Linked DNA regions of Homo sapiens: region 1 is linked to region 2. The links are contacts of gene promoters, found by promoter capture Hi-C in blood cells and fetal thymus (Javierre and others, 2016). All regions are on one chromosome and are shown on one strand. Each heading gives the region's core, a stretch centred on a gene start or on the middle of the fragment in contact. The rest is flanking DNA. Distances are from core to core; before and after follow the strand shown.

Region 1 (6,513 bases), core at 3,419-5,918, 570 kb after region 2:
GAAGACATGGCAGAGAGAATACAGTTGGGGGAAAAGGATAAGGCAGAAGAAGGGGAGCACCTTTGTCTGTAATTGTAGGAGAGAGGAAAAGATAGATGAAGTGGTAGAGGAAGAAGTTGAGAAACATCATTCTTAATATTCTCAATTTCCTCTGTGAATTAAAAGGCAAAGTCATTTGGTTAAAAAAACAAGTGCCCAGCCTGGACAACATAGTGAGACTGTCTCCGCTCCCACACCCCCCCAACACACACAGGCACACACACACACACACACAAATTAGCCAGGAACCTGAGGTCCCAGCTACTTGAGAGGCTGAGGTGGGAGGATTGCTTGGGCACAGGAGGTTGAGGCTGCTGTGAGCCATGACTGCGCCACTGCACTCCAGCCAAGAAGACAGTGAGACCTTGCAACAAAACAAAACAAAGCAAAAAAAAAAAAAAAAAAAAAGAAAGTGCAAGAATGGGGTAGAGGTAAAAATAATAAGGATGATAATTATAGTAATGATAGCAGCAAACGTAAATTGCTATGTGCCTAAAAATGCAATTTTAATTCTCACAATTCAATAAGTCAAACAGTATTTCACACCTAAGGAAACCGAGGCTCAAAGAAATAAAATAATATGCACATTGTAGAACACTTACTAAATAGTAGATCTGGGATTTTAACCCAGGAAGTCTGACTCCAGAGGCCAGCCTGCTAAGGAGAAAGTGAGTAAATGGATTAGAAATGTGTAAAAACATAGCTTTTAATTTATTTTCATTTAAATTATAAAAATTTGAAAAGTGGTGGTCTAAGAGGTGGTTGGAGGAAATTTTTGGCTTAGCATGTTTGAACTGAAAATGGAACAGCTAGGTCAATATGTGAAGGAGATAAACATGCTGAAACTAAATTTCAAGAGAGAAATTAGGTATAGAGTTTTAATAGTAACAATATACCATATATATTTATACTTTATTATTAGCACCAAAATTTTTACTTAGTGATACAATTCAAGACATGTATAAATCCCAATATTTATAAATAGTACTAAAACATATCATTTCCCCTTTAAAATTCAATAAAATATTGCATAAATTTCAAGCAACTCCTTAAGAATCTTAACCAGTCTATACAAGTAGGACTAGAGTCATTTCCATAATTATTGAAGTCAATCCTACTTTGAATTTCAGCAACACTGAAGAAATATTGTAAAGCTCGGTAGCAAAATAAACTGTGCCTGAAGGATCAAAGGGATGATGGCAAGTGCTGTGAGCTGCTCGTCCATAAGCTGAGCTTCCGAATGAAGAAAATAGATGGTCTGTAGCACCGGAAGCGGTCAAGTTCCCAGATGACAAGGTCCTCACAGTGAGTTAAATGGTGAGAAGAGGGGGAGGACAACTGGGAAGGAGGCTACCAAGGACCAGAGAGAGGGGCCTTGGAGAGACAGTGGTTCTTGCAGGGAAAATGTAAAGATTGGCCCCTGCTTTATTTCCTTTGCTACTTGCTACTCTTTTCTTGGTACAGAGCCAACGAGAGATCAATTTCTCTGTAGAAAAGAGTTCTTTTGTCGCTGAATTTTTACTGTAGAAGATGCCAGGCTCCAGTGTCACACACTCAAGAGTTTTTCTAGATTAATGAATGTCTCAGGTTCCTTGGCCAAATGTTTTAACATTATCTCTCCTCTTTTTTAACCGGTACTGCTCAGACTTCTTCCATCTGTTCCTCTCTAGGACCCTCCGTCAACCCTGTCCCATCATCGACCAAGCCCGTAAACTCTCTTACTGTGCACACACAGTCCACTTGTTTCCATATTCCAAGGAAGGTAACTTCATCCACAGGGTTCTCAACAAGCTGTCAATCTTTGGGGGGTCTCCTTTACAGCAACTTCAATACTTATTATCCAGGCAGCAAAGTGGTGTTCCCACTTCAGCTGTGAATGGAATCTGTAGAGAAATCTCTATTCTTTTTATTCTCAGGAAAATTTTTTTAAACTTTGAATATTTATCTTTTCACCTTCATAACCCAAAAATATCATTTAAAATGTACTGCCAGAATCAGACACAATCTAACCTAGGGTTTCTACTCTTCAGAGTGTTACCCTGTGTTCAGAAAACTTGAACATTGCTCTGATTAGGTGGTTTTTCTTAACCCCTCAAAAACTGTATTTTTGTCATCTGTGAAGTGGGGATAACAGTGGTTGGCATAAAAGCCTTAGTTCTAATAATTGTTATTATGAATGTGCACATCTATTCAGCTCCAGGCTTTTAAATTGTTTATTCTCCCTTTTAAATGGCATCTTGTTTTAAAAGTTAGTATCTTCTGTGTCTTTTATCATGTACTAATCTGTAAGTGATTCAGGTGCTCTTGAAAACTGCTTAGAAAAAGTTGTTTAAACAATTAAATGAATACATAGCTAATTCTTATTTAATGAAAGAATTCCATTCATTAGAATATGTCAATTGATTTATGTCGGCTAATGTAGCTATTAGAAAATGCCATACAACTTTTGACTTCTGGGTACTCATTTGTTAGCCAGCTGTTTGGAACTCAGAACACATTTTCTCATTATGTGATTATGTTGGTTGTTGGATTCTCAGGCAAGTTCATAAAAGTATATTTTAACCACAATGAGGTAGAAGCATACAATACCAATGCCACTATGGAATATAACAGCTAGAAACTAACAGAGATTGCTGAGTATCAATTAAGGTTGTATATTTGAAACATGCTGAGTATCCAAGAGTTTATATAGAAATTGTAAACATCATTTAAATATCATTATTAAATATTATAAATAAAGCTTATTATATTTTCTAAAGAAAAAGAATACACTCTAGAAGAGAAGGTCGAATCCTGAACTCCAACTAAATCCCCATTCCTTTTGCACCTGTGTTTGCCAAAGGAAAACAGTATAAAATAAGGTTAACAAAAAACTGCAGCTTGCAAAAGCAGGAGAAATCTGAGATATCCTGCAGCCTGTCCTCTCACGGATATGTGGATGTGAATGAAATGACCATACTCAACAGAGACAAAGTAAAGGAGAAAGAGTATGGGAATTTACAACCTTGATAATATGGGATTATGAATAGTTTATTTGCTATGTCTTCTCTTCCTCCTATTCTTCTTTCCTTTCTCCTTTTCTTTCTCCTTTCTTCCCTTATGTTCTTCCTTCCACCTTCCCTCCCTCCCTTTCTAAATATATGCTTGGAGTGCTTCAGGTTGTTAACTTAAAATATATGTTACATGTTTTATATGTTTAATATATATATGTATATATTATACACACACACACACACATATGGAAAGAAATCTTGGTTAGTACACTACTCTTTGAAGAGTTTATGTTCATGCCATCTGACCCTCACAGTAATTAAAAGAATAGGTGAGGCAGGCGAAAATCATCCTTTATATAAATTGGGAAACCAAAACCCCAAATGGTGAAATGATTCTTCCCAGATAACAACCTTGTCAAATACCCCTTCCAGTTGTCATGAGAATTGGGGCTGAGGTCTCACAATTAAACTAGGTCTAAGGTAAAGCGAATGAGGAAATAGGCAAGGGATTATTTTCAAGTGGAAAACATGCTGGGTAGCATCAGTACATTAAACTTAGTAGGTTTGTTAATGGTTTTAGTAATTTCAGAGACAATGCAGATTTTAATATTCTATAGAATTTTTGCTGACAGTATTTTTAAAATTAAAATCAATAGGCAAAATGAGACACCCAAACACCCAATCTCTCTCATATTAATGACACCTGACTCTTCCCTATACTACTCCACAAATATTTCTTAAGTTCCATATATACCGCCAAATAAGATGATTCCCTCATTTCCCAAATAAAAAATTCAAAAAGAGATAGATTTTGGGGGAATTTTGTATATATGCCTTTTAAGGATGTAGATGGAAGAGTCAAACGTTTACCTATTTTATTTAATAATTTTACTACATATATATTTTTAATGTTATATAAAATAAAATAAAAAACTAGAATTTTTCCACTTTCACATTTTCTTTTAAAATTGCCTTTAAACTCTCCAAGTGAATCTCAAGAGTGTCATCATTTGAGCCATTTTTTCAGTCATTTAGTTTAGCTTCTAGACTTTATCCTCTTGTAATTGTAACATAAGACTTTGTAAGACCTTAAATATAAAATGACTTCTCTTGTCTGCAGTAGAATTTTGGGGGAAATCCTTGCCTTTCTGTGGTAGAACTTTGGGGGAAATCCTTGGGTCTGTATAACAGATGAAGAGCTTTGTGCTCTGTGACTCCAGGACAGAGTATTTCCCCTTGGGTTAAACAGTCCAGTCTCTGACCGTCCCAGGGAATGGGGCTGCCTACATGCAACACTGGGAAAGCTGGAGAACTTCAGGTCAGGATGGAAAGCTGTCAATGAGATGAGGTATCAACCTGCAGATACATATTCGAGACATCGCTTTACAAGGCCAGAAACCAGGCCTTGCTTCAGTATATGGCCATGGTTCCCTTGCTAGCTGCTTTCTGGCAGTGGTGATAAGATTCCACAGAGTATCTGCTTGAAATGTTACACATTTATTCATCATCATCATTTCAGAACCTTTTTTCAGAGCAGTTGACATTTAGACCTCTGAATGAGGATTATTTTGGAATGGGCCATGTATGGGGAAAAATGTGGATGATGATGGCTGTTCCAGAGATGGCAGAAATGAAGATCTCAGATTGGAAACTAATTTTAGTCATGCTGCACATGCTCATCCCCTGTCACGCTCCTCTATATCTCGCCTCTCACCGAATGGTCTGCTCATGCTGCAGGCAGTGCCCGATAGCATTTATGGGCATCTTCATGATGCTCTTCCCAAAATGTTTTGTAAAAACTTAGCATTGCTCTTTGATACCAATGACTTATGAGAACGACTTGTATCATTCCATTGCCCAAAGAGCATCGACAGATGTCAGGATACTGAAATAGCTGCAGAAGCCGCTGCCAGCACACATTTTGCAAGCAAAATTTGCAGGGTGGCAGATTACAATGACAGAACTTTGGGGAGGAGTATTCATCACAAGATGGAATCAAGTGGTTCACACGTTGGCATTTTCCCAGTTGGTGATTGTTAGTAAATTCAGAGGCATCCTACCAGGCAGATTGCCTCTGCCCAAAGACAGCCTGAATCACCGACACAATAGCATTCTGACGGGAGTGTATTAGGGCAGGACCCACTCATATTTCATATACATGTCTTCTCCTGATGTTTCATATTGCTATTCAATTTTCATGAGTTTATATCTTATCTCCTAATTGGTTTATGATTGGAAATCTAGGACTTGTTTGGGCCACCATTGGAAAGACAGGAGCTTAATGTGGAAATGAGATTCTTGTCCAACAGGTTGAAGATTCTTGACAGGAATCAGAGATAACTGACAAAAGGGGTGGAGATGGGGCCTGCTGGGAGATGTTACTGCTTGAGGAAGATTGTTCTGTACCCTTTGGAATACAAGAAAAGATATGGAAAGGATTTCCTTGGGCTTTTATTAGCATTAACCATTCCTTTCTCTGCTTTCTTGCTCATGTATTCTGCTAACACTTATTAAGCATACACTCTGTGCTAGAAACTTGAATAAGGACTTCTTTGTAGCCCTTATTTTCTCTCCAACTCCTTTAATGTTTTATTTAATACAATATTTAAGAGCACAGTATTTTTGCATCACACAAACCTTTTGATGTATCACACAATAAGACCACTTATTGACAATATCAACTCAAACAGATGACTGAATCTTTCTGAGACTCTGTTTTCCAAAAAATGGAGATCAGAATATTTCCTACCTCATGGGATTGTTGTGAGACCAAATCAAATAGTGATTATAACATATTTTAGGTCCAATTGCTGATAAATTGTAAGCAATTGCTATCATTATTTAGTGCAAGTTTTTTTATTGGACTGAAACTTTTGGATGTCAAAAATGGTAGAATATTGATAACTTCACATGGATCAACTTAATATATGCTTTGTTTTCTAGATGGGTTTATGTTGGTTGTCATCATAAATCTTCTTTATAGTGTAAATGAGAAAAGAACCATGGTGTCCAAAGACTGGAACCAAGCCTCCACATTATAAGTTTATGAAAGCCAGGATTATACTTTGTGTAATTGAGCACTAAACTTGAGGCTCTCTACATAGAAGATGGTAAATGAATATTAGAATAATGAATTCATATGTTTGAGATATTTGGACTTTAGGAAATAGGCAACTATTTTTAATCACTTGATTTTCATTGGCCATAAAATTTCATTTCTGATACCTAAGAGCAAGTTGACACAATCACTTTAAAAACATGAATAGTAAATATTTATGAGCTGGCCTGGTTGAGTTTGGGAACTAGATCTGTCATATACAAACCATCTGACTTCAAATCAGTGATTCTTGATGAAAAACAAGGCTGTGAAAATCATAACATGACAATGGTTAAGGGTGAGGGTTTCATTTATATCTCTGCCTCTCTTCAAAAGATGAAAAGATATCTCAGATTAGAAATAAAAGGAGCTAGAAGGTACAAA
Region 2 (5,733 bases), core at 2,237-4,736:
CTTGCTTCATCACCTATTTATTATGTTTGCACATATAGTTAAATCTATGTCTTGACTCTATCCTTTCTACCAATTTGTTTTTTCTTACTTGGGGCCATATTACCAGGGTATATCATTTTATTATATATGATATCTGATAGGATTACCAGATATTATATATAATAGGTATATATAATATAGGTATATATATATTATATAGGTGTATATATAATAGGTATATATTATATAAAATAGGTGTATTATAGGATATTATATAAGAGGTGTATTTTTCCCATGACACTTTTTTTGGCTCCTCCATTTAGCTTTAAGTAGCAAAGTGTCATTCAAATCAGCTTTCTCTTAACCAGAATATTGTGGCCTACTTGGAATCAGAAACTTTTCACAGCCAATTATCTAAACCAGTTCTGAAGTAGACTATAACTGGGAAAATGGCAATGTAGGTTCTGTCTCTTCCAGAACCATCTGCTTCTGCTTATGGTGTCTTTTCAGCATCTACAGGGTCAGTCTGTCATGCAAAAGAGCATTAATTAAGTAGTTCTCTCTCCAGCAGATGCTTGAAGGAAATCCACAACTCAATTTCCACAGTAATTGGCTCCCAACACACCTTTTCTTACAGAGAGATAGTGATTGTTTTCTTTTCTGTGGTTTCCATTTTCCATGGCACCATACTCCTATACCCGCAAGCAAGCCTTACCGGCATGGTGATCTGGATGGGTTGCCGTTCTCCACTCTTCGTTGGGGTCACACCTTCTGTGTCATATGTACCCGTATAAACAACTCTGTCCCCATCAGGCTCTTTAGACTTCAGTTCCAGTGGGACAAGCACACCACCAATGGAAATATTCCTGCAATAGACTTGAGTTGACCACATACGGTTGAAATTAGCCTAGGCACCCTGTCCTGTTTTGGACCAAAACTCTAGGCAGGAAACTTACAGGGTTTCACTAAGGGGGGCATTGTGGTGCGGGAGAAAGTTCTGCAAGTTCAGGGGGCAGTGCTTCTCCTATTTATGAATTAAAAACCTACCTATCCCCAGCCCCAGACATTAGGATTCAGTTGGCCTGGGATGTAGTTTGGACACTGGTACATTTATTTTAAGGTTATCTAGGTGATCTTAATATGCAGGTAGGATTGAGAATACTGAACTCGTCCTCTAATATTTTTTTTCTCCTGTTCCAACAATCAGGGGTCCTATGATTTGGAGTACCTCAAGCCTTCTACACCATCAGAAATTCTCACTGGCATCATTCTTTTGTGTTAGGATAATGGTTCTCAAAGCCAAGTCCCTGGACCAGCAGTATCAGCATCACCTGCAGACCTTAGAAAACAAATTCTTAGGCCCTACCATAGACTAAACTAGAACTTCTAGGGAGAGCTCCAGCATCTGTGTTTTAACAAGCACTCCAGGTGATTCTGATATATACTCAGGTTTGAGAACCACAGGATTAGAGTTGAGAAATCCTTGATAGCATTAAAATGTAACCAGAAAAAATAGTTTTATTCCTAACAAATTAACTTTTAGATTAGTTTGAACACTAGAGGAATACTCTAAAAAAAAAAAAAAGAAATATATTAACAGATAACTCCGGGGATAAGGTTGGCAGGAAAGAAGGGAAAGGAAAAGCCTGGATTATATCCAGGTGCACAGAACACTGGGAAATGTGAGAATAAAGGGTGCATGGAGCTGTGGGGGATGCTGACAAATAGATGAATCAGGAGTACCAGAAACCATCCAGATTTGGTTCTAGGTCCTTGCACCTTGGAAGGCTAATACAAGTTTACTGAATTAAAACGTAAGCTATAAGTAGTATCTGATGAATTCAAAGTCCTTCCACCCCCGCAATAATGCCCACCATATGTAGTAGATACAATAAATGCTGGTTTATTTTCTCTCTGCAGACTAGACTTTGGTAGGTAGAAACGAGAGGTAAAGGGGCTCCACCCGCAGTTCTTCCGGGTAGGCTACTGCATGCTCCCACACACTTTCCCGCCAGAGGTCTACTGGGTGCATTATCCAGCGGTCGCTGGCAAGAAATCGTCCCTGCCATGGATAAACCAAAAAACATCCTCTTGCTGTGGGGATGTTGCTAATCCCAGGCACCATCACCAGCCTGAACAGAAAACTCAGGAGAAAAAGAACAGCATACGGCATGGAAAACCGTGAAACTAGGCCAGAGAAGGGGCGGCCGCTCTCTTACTAGTGTCTGCTGCTCCACCCCAGGGTCCCAGCCACTGAATGGCGAAGGGAGTGGGGAGCATCCCTCAGGGAGCCCCAGTAATCACCCCTCCCCTGCCTTTCCACCTCATTCCTCCTTTCTCCCTCCTTCAGCCTTGCGGGCAGACCCTGTGGGCCGCCTGGACCGCGCGCAGGAGGGCTGGGATTGCGGTGGCTGAACCCTGCGGACCTCTCCCATCTGCTCCACCCCGACCGCCTGCGGTTCCGCGCCCAAGGCTGGACAGAAGGCAGGAGAAATTTATAAGAAACAGACAAGCAAAAACCCTGGCTTCTTGTCACTGATTTTAAAGAACCCACTGAGGTCACTGCGATGGGTGGAGGGAAGCGAGAATGGAGGAATACAAGCCAAAGGGAAGGAAGGGGACGAAGGCGGACAGGGAGTGACCTCTTCCTCCAACCCCCGGGCCCGCTGGGAGCGGCGCGAGGCCAGAGGCCCTTGAGAGGCTCGGGCTGTCCTGGGGGCCTCAGTCCTCTGCCTGTACCCCATGGGGGACCCTGCTGCCACCAGGCGCCCCGCACTCACTCGACCTGCAGCGTGCTGGGTTTAATCTTCACCTCAACCTTGTAGGAGGAGCCGGTGAGCAGCTTGATGGTGCGGTTCTGGCCGAAGCGCTGCCCGTCCACCTTGTAAAAGACCGGGCCGTCATTAGGCTGGATGCGCAGCGCGATGGAGAGGCGCACGAGGCCCGGCAGGTCCCCCATGTCTGGGCGAGGGTCTGGCGCGGCGGCTCCGGGGGGCGGAGGACAGCGCCGGCTGCGGCCGAGTGGCTGGAGCGCGAGGGGCGGAGAGGAAGCGCGGGGAGGGTGAGGGAGGTGGTGGAGCTGAGGCTGCCGCTAGGAACCCGCGCCGTCGCCGCCGTCCGCCCGGGCTTTTGAGGAGCAGCTCCTTAGGCTGTGGCCCCCCTCCCCACTCGGCGAGGAAGCGGGCCCAAGAGACGGCTCCAAGGCCGCGCGCTTCCCCATCCCCCGCTCCAGTGCTGCGCCCTCCACGCACCCGAAGGCTCGCTCTGGCCCGCAGGCCGCCGCGCAGATCCGCGCAGCTGGGGGCGAGGGAGTTAATCCTGTTTACGCACCACAATCCCCTTCAGCTGGGGAAGCGGACATTTAGGCTCCTCCTAGAACAGCCCCGGGCAGGAGGAGGAGAGGTTTGGGAGGCACTGGGAAGGCGCTGGAGTTAAGCGACCACTATGCCAAGGAGCGAGACCCCCGGAATCTGGATACCGCCTCGGCCAGCTACGTGAGGTGGACACTGCTGCTCGCGGATCCGGCGCCAGCCAGGCGGGAGGAGGCTGAGGGGGGGTAAAGGGAGGCGGGAAGGGGGGACAGGAAACCGCTAGCCGGTGATTTAAATTTCAGGAAATATGAGTCTTTCCAAAGCTTAGGGGAAATGGCCGAGGAAAGGCGCAATTCCACGTGATGGAGCCACGCTGGATGAGGAATGGATGCAAGAGGAAGAAAATAACCATATTCAAGGAGCTACATCTTCTTGTGGGTGTACATTTCCATTATACGTATGCTCGTCCCAAAAATGACACATACATAAATATATGTAATGAATCACATATATTTACACAGATTTTGAAGGGTGAGCTATTAACCCTGTAAAAGGCAACTGACATGAGCCTAAGGCATTCTGGTGACAAAATGGCCAAGAGGTGGGATGGGTCAAAGGATTATTGGCAGGGGGCCATATGCGACACCGCAGAGTTTAGATTTGCATATTAAGCGTGATTAGACAGTTTTCGTGGCAGAGGTCGGTAGACAGCTGACTTTTGGAAGCGAGGGGAGACTCAGGGGGTGAGGACTATACTGGGAATGGCTTCCCGGAGCAGAGAGAGCACCTGCTTCAGCACCACCCAGATGGATAGTACCAGAGCCAGGGAGCACACCTGGGAAATGAAGTGGGCTAGTGAGAACAAATGGGTAGGGATGCGTTTCCTTGGCAGTTTTTGTTTACCCAAGTTAGACTGCTCTTTTTTAAGAAATAATAAGCTATACATATAATATATATGTAATATGGGTGTTTATTGCAACATTGGTTGCAAAAATAAAAATAAAACCTAAATGAAATGTTAACCAATAAATAAATGGCTGAATAAATTCTTATATACCCACACTATAGAACGTTACACAACTATCAAAATAATGAAATATAGGTTGCATTGGCAAACACACAGGCAAAAACTGTTAATGATAAAAGTGGGATGGCTGGGAAACAAAGCCTGAGGGCGAGCATTTTGTCTGTTTTGTTTGTTGCTGTTTCCCCAGCATGCCAAAATAGTGCCTGACACATAGTAGGTGCTCCAGAAATCGTTGTTGAATTGACTTACGGTTGTGGTCTTAATCATGTCCATATGTAAATTCTTTCACATCTTTAAAATTAATTAGATCCTTGCGATTTACCTGGAATGATGAAAAGAAATCTAATTGCAAGTAGCATCTCTAGTGTTTTAGAAAAATGAAAATTTAAAAAGAATATAAATGTGTATGTTTGTATTAGCTCTTTTAAAAGAATGAGAGAGTTACACAGTAAACTTAATGTTGGTTATTATGGTTTATGAGTAGTGGAAAGAGGGTGAGTATCTTTTTGGGGTCATTTAAAAGCCTTTTTGGAAATTTTGCCTTTTTTCCTCAACCTTTTGTTTAGCAACCCCACAATCTCAAGCCAACTTCCACCTGTGTATCAAAAAGAGCATTGGACCTGGAGGATGATGACTCCATTTTAAAACCTGGTTCTAAGGCCGGCATGGTGGCTCATGCCTGGAATCCCAGCACTTTGGGAGACCAAGGAGGGCAGATCATTTGAGGCCAGGAGTTCAAGACCAGCCTCGCCAAAATGGCAAAACCTGTCTCTACTAAAAATACAAAAAATTAGCCAGGCGTGGTGGCGCATGCCTGTAGTCCCAGCTACTTGGGAGGCTGAGGCATGAGAATCGCTTGAGCTGGGGAGGCAGAGCTTATAGTGAGCCGAGATCATGCCACTGCACTCCAGTCTGGGCAACAAAGTGAGACTCCATCTGAAAAAAAAAAAAAAAACCCACACAAAAACAAAAACAAAAACTCTGGTTCTAGCCTGGCTAGGTAGTGCACTCTTGCAGTCCCCACTACTTGGGAGGCTAAGGTGGGAAGATCACTTAAGCCGACGAGTTTGAGGCCAGTATGGACAAAATAGTAAGACTGCCATCTCATAAATAAATAAAATAAAAAAAACCTAACTCTGCCACTTTTTAGTTTCGTTATGCAAATAACTTAACATCTTTATGTTTCATCTTTGTAAAATGAGGATTAAAATACCTCCTTCCCAACATTGTGAGAATTGAATGAGGAAATGGAAATTGTTTGAAAAAAATAAATTACTTTTCAAATACGAGGTGTTACTAATGCTGGGCAATATCCATTAGGAATAGCATTTTCAGGACCATACAATGTAATGTCTTAAAATGAAATTAATAAATGTAAAAGTAATTGGAAAATTTATCATCACTGATACATATGTG

Evidence for each region. Contacts are between HindIII fragments. The CHiCAGO score rates a contact against its expected background, and 5 or more counts as called.
Region 1: a contact is called between a fragment that was not itself captured here and the fragment with the promoter of CNRIP1 in region 2, in 1 of 17 cell types (neutrophils). The highest score is 5.5, in neutrophils.

The regions. Positions count from the first base shown.
Region 1 is chr2:68,880,801-68,887,313 of GRCh38, forward strand. LOC105374792 (a long non-coding RNA gene) reads right to left here and starts at 1,229. Exons shown (of 3, transcript XR_940227.3): 1 at 1,158-1,229; 2 at 642-693. RefSeq lists an enhancer at 1-683. The HindIII fragment of the contact is 3,782 bases long and covers 2,778-6,513 here.
Region 2 is chr2:68,316,463-68,322,195 of GRCh38, forward strand. It overlaps CNRIP1 (cannabinoid receptor interacting protein 1), which reads right to left and starts at 3,487. Exons shown (of 3, transcript NM_015463.3): 1 at 2,760-3,487; 2 at 695-845. The coding sequence starts at 2,938. The HindIII fragment of the contact is 3,613 bases long and covers 1-3,611 here.